Linked DNA regions of Homo sapiens: regions 1 and 2 are each linked to region 3. Evidence: promoter capture Hi-C in 16 types of primary human blood cells and fetal thymus (Javierre and others, 2016). All regions are on one chromosome and are shown on one strand. Each heading gives the region's core, a stretch centred on a gene start or on the middle of the fragment in contact. The rest is flanking DNA. Distances are from core to core; before and after follow the strand shown. Region 1 holds the start of PCIF1 (phosphorylated CTD interacting factor 1). Region 2 overlaps TP53TG5 (TP53 target 5). Region 3 holds the start of OSER1 (oxidative stress responsive serine rich 1).

Evidence for each region. The method cuts DNA at HindIII sites, captures the fragments that hold promoters and counts their contacts. A CHiCAGO score of 5 or more calls a contact.
Region 1: a contact is called between the fragment with the promoter of PCIF1 here and the fragment with the promoter of OSER1 in region 3, in 1 of 17 cell types (fetal thymus). The highest score is 6.0, in fetal thymus.
Region 2: a contact is called between a fragment that was not itself captured here and the fragment with the promoter of OSER1 in region 3, in 1 of 17 cell types (total B cells). The highest score is 5.2, in total B cells.

The regions. Positions count from the first base shown.
Region 1 is chr20:45,932,727-45,935,932 of GRCh38, forward strand. It overlaps PCIF1 (phosphorylated CTD interacting factor 1), which reads left to right and starts at 1,957. Exons shown (of 17, transcript NM_022104.4): 1 at 1,957-2,078. It overlaps LOC107985388 (pre-mRNA-splicing factor cwc22-like), which reads right to left and starts at 2,345. Exons shown (of 1, transcript NR_171669.1): 1 at 768-2,345. RefSeq lists enhancers at 1-575, 858-1,007, 1,267-1,958, 1,959-2,649 and a silencer at 2,278-2,487. The HindIII fragment of the contact is 3,152 bases long and covers 1,077-3,206 here.
Region 2 is chr20:45,372,775-45,376,387 of GRCh38, forward strand. It overlaps TP53TG5 (TP53 target 5), which reads right to left. Exons shown (of 5, transcript NM_014477.3): 4 at 2,265-2,778; 5 at 1-1,237. The coding sequence ends at 1,133. All of the region lies in intron 3 of SYS1-DBNDD2 (SYS1-DBNDD2 readthrough (NMD candidate)), which reads left to right. It also overlaps a transcript of SYS1 not described here. Among named protein-coding and RNA genes, the nearest start is that of TP53TG5, 3.7 kb to the right of the region's middle. RefSeq lists an enhancer at 569-628. The HindIII fragment of the contact is 5,473 bases long and covers 1-3,613 here.
Region 3 is chr20:44,208,794-44,212,321 of GRCh38, forward strand. OSER1 (oxidative stress responsive serine rich 1) reads right to left here and starts at 1,978. Exons shown (of 4, transcript NM_016470.8): 1 at 1,903-1,978. OSER1-DT (OSER1 divergent transcript) reads left to right here and starts at 2,167. Exons shown (of 3, transcript NR_038339.2): 1 at 2,167-2,284. RefSeq lists an enhancer at 1,388-2,007 and silencers at 1,667-1,736, 1,932-2,380. The HindIII fragment of the contact is 3,146 bases long and covers 1-3,023 here.

The DNA of each region.
Region 1 (3,206 bases), core at 707-3,206, 1.7 Mb after region 3:
CGACAGTGCGAGATTTCGTCTCAAAAAAAAAAAAGGGTAATAATCACTACATGGTTTTTAAACTTTAGTGAAAGCGCGGGCTAGCTGGGGGGCATGAGCATGGAAAACTGGTTATCCCGTAGGTCAAGAGCGACCACGTAGTTTACTGCCCAAAGCAGTACTTTTTTTTGAGACAGGAGTCTCACTCTGTCGCCCAGGCTGGAGTGCAGTGGCGCGATCTCGACTCACTGCAACCTCTGCCTCCCGGGATCATGTGATTCTCCTGCCTCAGCCTCCCGAGTAGCTGGGATTACAGGCGCGCGCCACCAGGCCTGGCTCATGTTTGTAATTTTAGTAGAGACGGGGTTTCGCCGTGTTGGCCAGGCTGGTCTTGAATTCCTGACCTCAGGTGGTCCACCTGCGTCGGCCTCCCAAAGTGCTGGGATTACCGGGGTGAGCCACCACGCCCGGCCCAAAGCAGGGCACTTCTGAAAAAGGAGGCAATATTAGTAATTATGCCAGGGCAGCAGGCATAAATCAAAGCTGGCCCCCCACCCTTCCAGAACTGAGACAGGACCCAGGAGTCTGGTTTCCCATCAGGCCTCTTATCTGAACGAGAAGCTCTGCGAGGGCAGAACTGCTGTGCCTATATAGAGCTGGCTTATTTCTGGAGGGCTCAAATCTACTTGGAGCAATGCTCATGCCACTGTGAGATGATCACGGCTAACCGATTCAGCACTTAGGAAGCGCCAGGTATTGCGCTGAGGACTTCACATGCATCACCTGAGTTAATTCTCACCAAACCTTTATGAGGTAGGCGGATTTATTATCTTCCACTGAGGAAACTAAAATTTAAATTGGTTAACTCCTTCAAGGCCACACATTTTGGGTGGAGGAGCAGGGATTGAAATCAGATGAGGATCATGAACCCTCGTTCTCAATTACTACTCATATCGGTGCCTCCGTTTTTCTTGAGCGTCCGCCTGCCTGCCCCCACGCTGGCGTGCAGCCAGGACCATGGACATCTGAGAGGCTACTCAGCCGGGGTACCTACAGCCCCTGGCTCCACACAAGCGCCGGTCTGACAGCAGGTGGCAAGCTTTTCCTCTTCTCAAGCTAGCACTGGAAGGGATGCTTGCTGGGGAGACCGGAGATGGGTGGAGCTACCACTCGGACGCCTGCAGGCTCCTACCAAAAAGAATCCTGCAGGGAGCCGGATGAGGAGCACCTCACAGCTGCCAGTTCCCTGCCAGGCTACCCGCTGTAGCTGGTTTGAGGGCTCAGTGAGGCTTTGAACTGCAACTAATGGCCACAGATGTCAATGTTGGAAAGGCCCTACAATGCATTTAGTTGATTTCCCAACTCTGCCGAAAGCCATCTCTATTACTTGCCCCCGAAGGCTAGTTTAAGTTGCTTCTACTCAAGAGCATTTACAGCTTGGGTTCGATGTATATGTAGCCCGGGCATGGGGCAGGGCTTCTTAACATTTGGACACCACGCAGCACAAAGGCCCAGAGAGGGAAAGAGACTGGCTGGAAGAGGCAGAGCCGCGCGGGTGCCAGGACCCAGGTCCTTGCTACGTCCGGAGCCTACGTCACCACGATGCCTCCCCTGGGCCGGCGGCAGAACCCGAGACCCCCGCAGGTTCTAAGACAGCCCCCACGCCCCCCAGTGCGCACGCTCAGTCCAACCCCGCCGCGCACCGCCCACCGCGAACATCCGGCTCCTGCGTGTGTGCTCGAGGGGGAAACTGAGGCGGGGACGTGCCAGTGAATTCATTCCTTCCTCAGTCCACCCGCAGGCCTACAAAGCTGTCTCCCCTTCCTCAGCGCCACAAGGAACAGCAGGGACGGATGGGAAGAAGGGGAGGGGGCCGAAAGCAAGCTGGGTGCGAGGAGCCAGCCGACCCTGCCACACTCAAGATGGCGGCGCGGCCGCGGCGAGGTCCCTCAGAGGCGGTACCAGCGCATGCGCAGCGCGGAGTCCCGGCCCGGGACACAAGATGGCGGCAGCGGCGCTGGGGAGGGCGAGGCGGAGGCGGCAAAACGGGCGGTCGAGCAGAACGTGTAGCCGCGTCCCCTCCAGTCCGCTCCGGGCAGGTAAGAGTCCCAGGAAGCCATGGTCCCGCAGCGAGCCGCGCCAGGGTCTGGGGATCCGAAGCTGGGGGGCGGCGGCCCCTCCGGCGCTTTCTGCTCGGGACTGCCGCTTGCCCTGTCTCTGTTGCCGCCGCCATCTTAGACCCGCGGGTGGGCGGCCGCGCCGGTGGCCGAAGTGAGGGAGGTGGGCCCGGAGAGCCCCAGCGGAGCGGGCTCTAGGGCCCCTCCGCTGCTGCCGCCGCCACCGCCTTTGTGTCGGGCTCCGACTCTGAGTCGCCTCAGCCCGGGGGCGGGAGCGCGCGGCGGGGCGGGGGGCGGAGCCCGAGAGATGGGCCGGCGCGCGCGCGCGCGCCAAACAGCCCACCCTCGCTGGGGTAGGGGGAGGGGAAGGTGCGCGCGCGCGCGCGCGCTGGAGCTCGCCTCTCGCCTTCGTGCGCCGTCGCGCCTGCGTACTTTGTTCGCCCTTTGACTCCTCCCTACTGGGCCGGAGAATTCTGATTGGTACATTGCGGAGATGGTCCCGCCCCACGTGCCTCCAATCCCGGACTCGGACTCTGGCTTCTGGTGGGTTTTTCTGGTTGCGCAGATAGAGTTGTTTATCCTTGAGCAGCGGTAATTCTCAAACTGCGGTATGCGTGGGGGTCGGGAAGCCACAGGATAAATAAAGACGTTAACTTAAGAGCAGTTATGTCTTACTGGGAGCGTACAATGCTGGACTCTACATATAACGGTCGAGTGATTCCGGTTTATAAGCCGGAAAGCAGAAGGGCCCGGAATCCGGGTCTGTCCAACCCAGGGGCTGGTACTTCGGCCACAGACCTGCTGCGCTCAAGTCACATAGGAAATTAAAAATGGTTTTAATTGCAAAAAATGGGTACATTTTTTCAAATAGTGTGAAAAAATGAGTCATCCTGTCTCCCAGTCACTCTTACGGTGCGTTTTAAAAATACAAATTCTTGTGTGCCTCACCTCCGTATTTATTTCTGGCTTCTGAGATGCGCAGTGAGGCACAGGAGTCTGATTTTTTTTTTTTTTTTACAAACTCCAAGATGATTCTGATGCACAGCTGGCTTTGGAAATACTGCAGTGTCCCCATTTAGCCTCACACTAAGCTGTGCCGCTTGTGCGTAT
Region 2 (3,613 bases), core at 612-3,111, 1.2 Mb after region 3:
ATTGCGCTGGGAGCAGGAGCTCGGGAGCACGCAGCAGCCACTATGAGGTGCTAAGCAGTCCCCGCGCTGTGGCTCCGCCCAGGCTGGTCCGCGCGGCAGCTGATGCCCAGTCTTGGTGCCCAGTAATGGTGGGGAGGAGTGTGTGAGTGGGCGGGGTGGGAGGGGGGGAGAGTCCATCCAATCGTTCTCCCTCTGTCCCAAACTGGAGATCTATCTGCATCGCTGCCCTGACCCCCAATCCCGGAGAGCTCTGTGCCCCTCGATGGCTCCACTGCTCTCCCGAGGGCGCCCACTCCATGCAGCCTGCCTCTGGGGAATATGGAGGTCTTCGTCCGGAGAAAACTCGGGCTCCCTTGGCTTTCCTCTCCCCAACGGCATGGTTAGGACCCTGTGACTCCTACCGACAGAGGGTGACCCCGGCCAGATGGGGTCGACCAGGGCTTGGGGTTGAGGTCTTCAGATTGAGGGTGGACCTGCCATGTCACCCTGGAGCAGTAGAGATGCAGTACCAGCTCCCCCTCCTGATCCGGTGCCTTCTGTGATCTGTGACCAAGGCAGGACACATTTGGAGGCCCAGCTGACATCCACTTTTTGACACCAGCCACAGTGCAATCAGTTTTTGACAATCAATTTTTGACAATCAGGTCGCAATGCACGCGCATGACCTACAGGGTGCTGGGGCTATTCCGCCTGCCTCGTGACTTCTGAGCAGGCTCTCATTTCGCCTTTTCCCTTTCTTGGGAAAATGGAATGGGGAGCAACCAGGAGCCCTTGCTCCTGCCACTTTCTAGCTGAGTGAGCCTGGGCAAGTTACTTGCTGCCTCCGCGCCGCGGTTTCCTCTTGCGAGCTCGCGGGGCGATTGTGAGGCACTTTGCACCCAGGAAGCACACGAGCGCCCTGACTTCACAGAGCGCGCCACTCAGGAGACTAGCTCGCGGAGGTGGGGGAGGGGTGCTGCTCGCTGGCTTCTTTGGTTCTAGACTGACCTTAGGGGCCTCGGGGTGGGGGTGGGGGAAGCCTGAAGTCGCGACACAGGCTCCCTCTACCGAAGGCCTCTTTCCTTCATCCTTCCCAGCCCCAGACAAACAGGCAGAGTAAGCAGTATTCGTCTTAGGTGCCATATGGAAGATCTTATTTGTAGACTCGTGAATTTCGCCACCCATTCCTCCCCTTCAGCTGATGGCGCGATCTCCACCCTCTGCTCGCACCTCTGGCTCTCGTCCAGGTCACATCAACCTGCCAGCAGAAACCTCGGTGTTAGGCGCTAAGACTGTCCCCAGGGGGCGCTGGTCGTTTGGGGAGCGGGCGCAGGGACAAGGGTGCTGTGGTGTCTGGTAGGTTGGAAATGCCTTTGCTAAAAAGGAAAAGCCTCCCTTTAAGCTAGACCCGGTGGGCACTCACCCCCTTCCTTTCGTGGGACTTTCATTCTCCCACGAAAGGGCTGCGGTATTTTCTTCTTTTTTTGCTAAGGAACTTTCTGCTCAGAGTAAATCTTTTTTTCCTTTCTTTTTTTTTAAGACAGGGTCTTGCTCTCTTGCCCAGGCTGGAGTGCAGTGGCGAAGTCACAGCTCACTGCAGCCTCGACTCCTGGGCTTAAGCGATCCTCCGACCTCAGCCTCCTGAGTAGCTGATACTACAAGCGCAAGGCACCACATCTGGCTAATTTTTAAATTTTTTGTAGAGACAGTGTCTCATTATGTTGCCCAGGATGGTCTTGAACTCCTGGCCTCAAGCAGTCTTCCTGCCTCGACCTCCCAAGGTGCTGGGATTACAGGCGTGAGCCACCATGCCTAGCCTGTTCAGAGTAAATCTTATTTGAGGCATGAATCAATCAAACATAAATAGAGAGTTGAATTGATCTTAGAGGGAATGGGATGCAGCAAAGCCCTACTTGACCATCTCCCCCCTCCCACATTTGGAAATCCTTAAACCCACTTATGTAGGCCTCTGACTGTGAGATTCAGAGCCACAGCAGTTTCCACCTCTGCTAAGGCCTTCAGGCAGTGAGATGGCTCACTTCAGTGCCCCTCCTTCCACACATCTCCTAGCTGTATCCTGAGACGCCTCAACCTAGTCACTACCCTTCTGTATGATGTTGGTCTAAGGCTTCCCCCTCTCTGGACATGAAGGCGGAGCCTCCCAGCACTACCAGCCACACACCACTCAAGACTCCAGATCCTGAACCCTGACTCTGGGGCCCAGCTCTGGGCCTGGCTTGGGGCTTGCATCTCACCTAGCCTGGCAGTGTTGTTGTCACACCCACCTTGTATGGATGCCACATAGGCATTTCAAGTGATGCGGAGCAGAAGCGGGTGCAGCGGCGCTTGACCCAACGCAGGGTGGAGGATCTGCACATCACCCTGGGCGCCGGGAGGTGGATTCGTGTGGGCAGCCCCTCAAACCAGATCCACTGGTCGGCTACATCCAGCTGCTTCATGTGCCCCATGGGAGTTCTATTGCGGTAGGGCTTAATGAAGATGACTCGGGGGCCCTCGGTGAGTGGTTGCCTCCCCTGGACTCCAGGGTTCAAGCTATCATCCCTCGATGTCCTTGGAACCTCAGGCTCTATATGCTTTTCTTTCCGTGGCATTGCCGCCAATGACGTTTTCTCCTTGTTCCTCATCCCTGACTGCACCTGGGACTTCCACTCCTTGTACTCTTTTTTCTTAGGGTCCCCTGTGGACTCTAATTTCTTGGACTTGAGTTCCTTCTCGGAGCACCCGATCTCCTGGAACTCTTCATTATTTTGTTTTGTTTTATTGCAGGCACTGTTTTCCCTGGCAGGGAGAGGAAAGGCAGTCAGCACAGCAGGACCGAGGCCCTGGTTCCCGAGACAGTTGCTATGTAGCCAGCTCAGGGGAGCCTGTTAAGAAAGGCTAGAGGGGCCTGCAAAGAAACTTCTCTACTGCCCAGAGGCCTTGTGCTGGTGTGAGGAGGTGTGATGAGCACTAGCAGAGGGATGTGAGAGATTGGGAAGGTGAAAGCCATGACTAGTAGTTAAGGCCCCTAAGAATGAATATTGTCTACATCATCTGCCACTAGATTAGGGTTCTGTCTCTCTGGACTTCAGCTGGGAGGGTGAACAGTCCAGTAGTTTTTCTAAATTGTGCTCCAAGAACCTTAGGGTTCTGAGGAGGTGTCTCAATGTCACCTCCCCTGACCCACTGGGGCAGGATACCTCTCCCCAGCTCATAACAACACAATTGGGGCTTGGAAATAGATATTTGAACAGAGGTTTCACTGCTTTAATAAAGTTGGAAAACTGTTCAAGACCAGCCTGGGCAACATGGTGAGACTCTGTCTCCATACAAAAAAAAAATTTTTAAGTTGGAAAATGATGGGGCTAGATGATCCTGATCCTTCTAGCTCTATGTTTCCTGATTGCCTGCGACTAGAGGCCAAATCAGAAAGAGGAGCCCAGAAAGGTGGCCTTGACAGAAATATTAAATGCTGAGACTTTCCCAAAGGGTGTCTGTAACAGACTGGGCCCCCTGCAAACCCCCAGTGGCAACACCATCCTAGCCAAGGGCGTGGAGAGAGATGAGGCCTTGGGCTGCAGATAATGGCAATACTGTGATGATAATAATGGCTCCCGCTGATTGAGTCCTCGCT
Region 3 (3,528 bases), core at 728-3,227:
CAGCTCTTACCGAGTTCATAAATCATCTGAGCCAATCTCCCCAACCCGCAGACCGCCCCCCAAGTCCTCTTTAGCCCTCTCTGGAAATCAGTCAGCATTTACGTACACATCACATTTAAGTATACACTGCTGAACCCTACAGGCAGAAATTCATTTCTTTCACAAATATTTACAGAATTCCTACCACGTGCATGGCACTAGAATGAATGCTAGGGATAGAAGCCCAAACTCCATTTCCGTAAGGACTAGAATCTCATTCCTGCCCTCCAAGAGCTTACAATGTAACACTGTGCTAAGAGGCTCTGAACCTACATATGTAACTTTTAATTATACCATGCTGACTTAATAGCATGGCAGGTGATCACCCTAGATGTTAATACAAACTTTACATTCCTGTTGACACACTAAAAGATCTATCATCTAAAAACCAAAACAGGCCAGAATTAAAATCTGGCTACAGACTAAAACTTCAGGAATGAAGTTCTGTCTAAACCATTTTCAGACTTCCAGCATTTTTTTACTACTCACTTTTTTTCTCAGTTATTTTAGCCAAGAGCAAATGAGCGTTAGGCATAACCTTAAGAGCTAGAGAAGAGCATGTTTGTAATTATAAAAGGCTCATTATGCTCCTCTGCATCCCCAGATCCCCATTCAAAGAAAGGGCTGTACAACTAACTCCGGACAACAGATATAATTGGCTTGCCTTTCTTCATTAATATTAAATTTGTGGGAGACAGTCTTGGCGTTTTCACTGCAGTGAACTCGTGAAGTTGAACAATCTCCAAAGAGATGAAACTTTAAAAAGCCTATTCGAAGTTAAAGTCAAATCACACCAGGCAATTTAACTTTGCCTCGGATTTTCCACAACCTTACAAAAATTACAAAGTTCTTCTAAGTTCCTCCATCAAAAGGCCAAATTCCTGGTTTTTTCTTTCAACAAAATGGATGCGTCACAATCTTATTTACATCTTGCCGTTTTAACCAAGACCTCCTTGAATCCCAAGCCTAGGTCTACACTTCCAGGCCCCTGAGAAGACCTAAGAACGATCAAGAAGGGATGCGCGGGTAAGCGTTGTCATCACAACATTAAAGATTTCGAAACTCCCAGACCACCAGAAAGCGTAGAGTATGGGGAAGAAAACCAAACCCAGCAACTCTAAGAGGCAAACTAGACCGGGAGGAAACAATCGGCCCCCAGGACAAAAAGCACATTCACACCTCTCCGTGCAACCCACTCATCCCTTTATACTCGCAGCGCTGCAGCCAAAGCACAAAGTTCTTTCTTTTCACCCAGAGTCTGTGCCTGTCGCGGTTAAACATGAACGGAGGAAAATTCCTAGTCAGAACCCAGAGGGGTAGGACGGGGCTTGGAGTGTGGGGACAACGCCAAGCAGGGAGCTGTCCAGGGGCACTGCCCGCCCGGGGTCTCCAGCTGTGAAGTTGCGCTCCTCGGGAGATTCCTGGGGTCAGAACGAGAGGCTGGAGTCGGAGCGAGGCACAAGGGATGCGGGAGAAGAAAGGAGTGGGGCCGAAGAGGTAGCCAAAGAGAATGGGGCTCCGAGGCGAGAGAGAAAGGACTGGAAGGGGCAAAGGGCGGCCAAGGAGGGCGAAAAGGGGAAGCTGCCGCTGGGCGGGAGACGGCGGAGGAGCGAGACGGGGCGGGGGACCGCGGGAGGACGGGAAGGCGGGAAGGGGAGAGAGCGTGGAGCTCGGAGCTCCAGCAGGCACAGGCCGCGGCAGATAAGGGGGCGCGGAGAGGCCCAGGCCCGGCCCAGGCAGGAGGCGTCGGGAGACGACGCGACCCAAGGCGGGCGGGCCCGGGGAAAACCGCCCGCGGCCAGACCGGCAGTGGAAGCTGAGACGCAGTGCTGCGGCCCCTCCCCGTCACGTCAGGGCACTTACCTCCTCGCAGCTGGGACGCTCCGGTGATGCGGGGCAGTCAGTTCAGAGCGTCTCTCCCAAATCTCGGCACCCGACTGACCCGGATCCAAACCAGCCAAGGGGGCGGCCCGCGCCTCGGGAGTCGCGTTGCGCCTGCGCACTCCGGCATGCACCCCTCCCCCTGCTTATGCTCCTCCCACCCCAGTGACTCGGCAGCGCGGCAGCCGACGACTGCGCAGACGCAGGGCGGCGGCCGCGCCTCTCCAACGCCCCGCACCCGCCCCCCTCAGAAGCACGTGCGCCTTACGTAATTTCCTGTTATTCTTCGGTTTGCCTCCTCCCAGTGGCGTGGATTTGCTCCCGACCCGCTTTTGGGGCGTGCCTGCTTCCTCCTCTCTGTTAGGTGAGTGAGTAGGCGTCATTCTTCACAGTAGTCCTCTGCCTCCACCGCCCCGGGATCTCCTTGCGCTCGGTCCTCTACGTGGAGTCACCTATGCAGAGGAATTCCACGGGGCGGGGGCGAGGACAGGGTGCGGGGGTCTTTATGGCAGACAATCCCCGGCTGAGCGCTTGGCCAGAGTTTCTGTGATGCTAGAATCTGGACTGCCTGCGACCTCTCCGGGACTCGGACACCAGCCCTCGCCTCCTGGTGATCTTTTAGGTCCTGCAGAGAAGTGAAGAGGTATTGGACGTGGCCAGGGTCAATAGTGTGAAGCCAGAATTAGAATTGAATTGAAATGCCTTCGGTTTTGATATCTCTGCTGTTTGTCTTGAGGCAACTGCTTTTCCTCCTTTGGGCCTCTCAGTTTTCCATCTAGTAAGTGAGGAAGTTGAACCTTATCGGTGAATCTCGTGTTTTCAGGCGTAGACTCCTTTGAGAATCTGGTGAGAACTGTAGATCCTCTTGCCAAAGAAATGCACCTACACACCAAATTTTGCAAAAAGATTTAGGCAGTTCACCAAAGGAGATGAATTTTAGGATTCTTTACATTTTTCTGATTCTGAATGTTGCTCAGATGGTAGGCGGGAAAAGGTGATCTGTGCAACAGCTGCCACCCGCTCCATCACCAGGACTGGTTCTGCTGATCTAGCTGTGCCTCTCCTCGCCTGCCAATCTCCAGCTCCACGTCTGCACTGCTCAAAGCTTCGTGAGAACAGATGATTTTGCGCAATTGAGTTGGATGGCGTTGATTGTGGCCCACCCCTAGAGTGAGGGTTTTTCCCTGAACCAAAACTGGCCCCATCCACCGTCATTCCCCAATACCTTAGTTGTAGTCAACTAGATAGGCTGCCGAAGATGGTTTAACTGTGTCCAGCTTAACTACAGCCAGGCTTTGGAATGCCTGGCCTATGTCTGTAAATGAAATCTAACAATTTATTGTATAACGTTGTTAAACATGAAGCATGATGTTGGCCCTGGATAAAACATTTTAAATTCTCGTCGTTCATACCAGAGGCTCAGTAACTGACCGGTTGAAAGAAAACTGTTCATTGTAACCTAATGATGCTAGTTAGATAGCATTAGATTATGTTAGAGATCAGATAACTTGTTCTAGCTGCCTTTGTCCTGTCTCACAGTGCTAGTAAGTCAGGATTTAAACTGCCCTTCTCAACATCTCTTGGACAAGAAAAAGCGGGAAATATGAT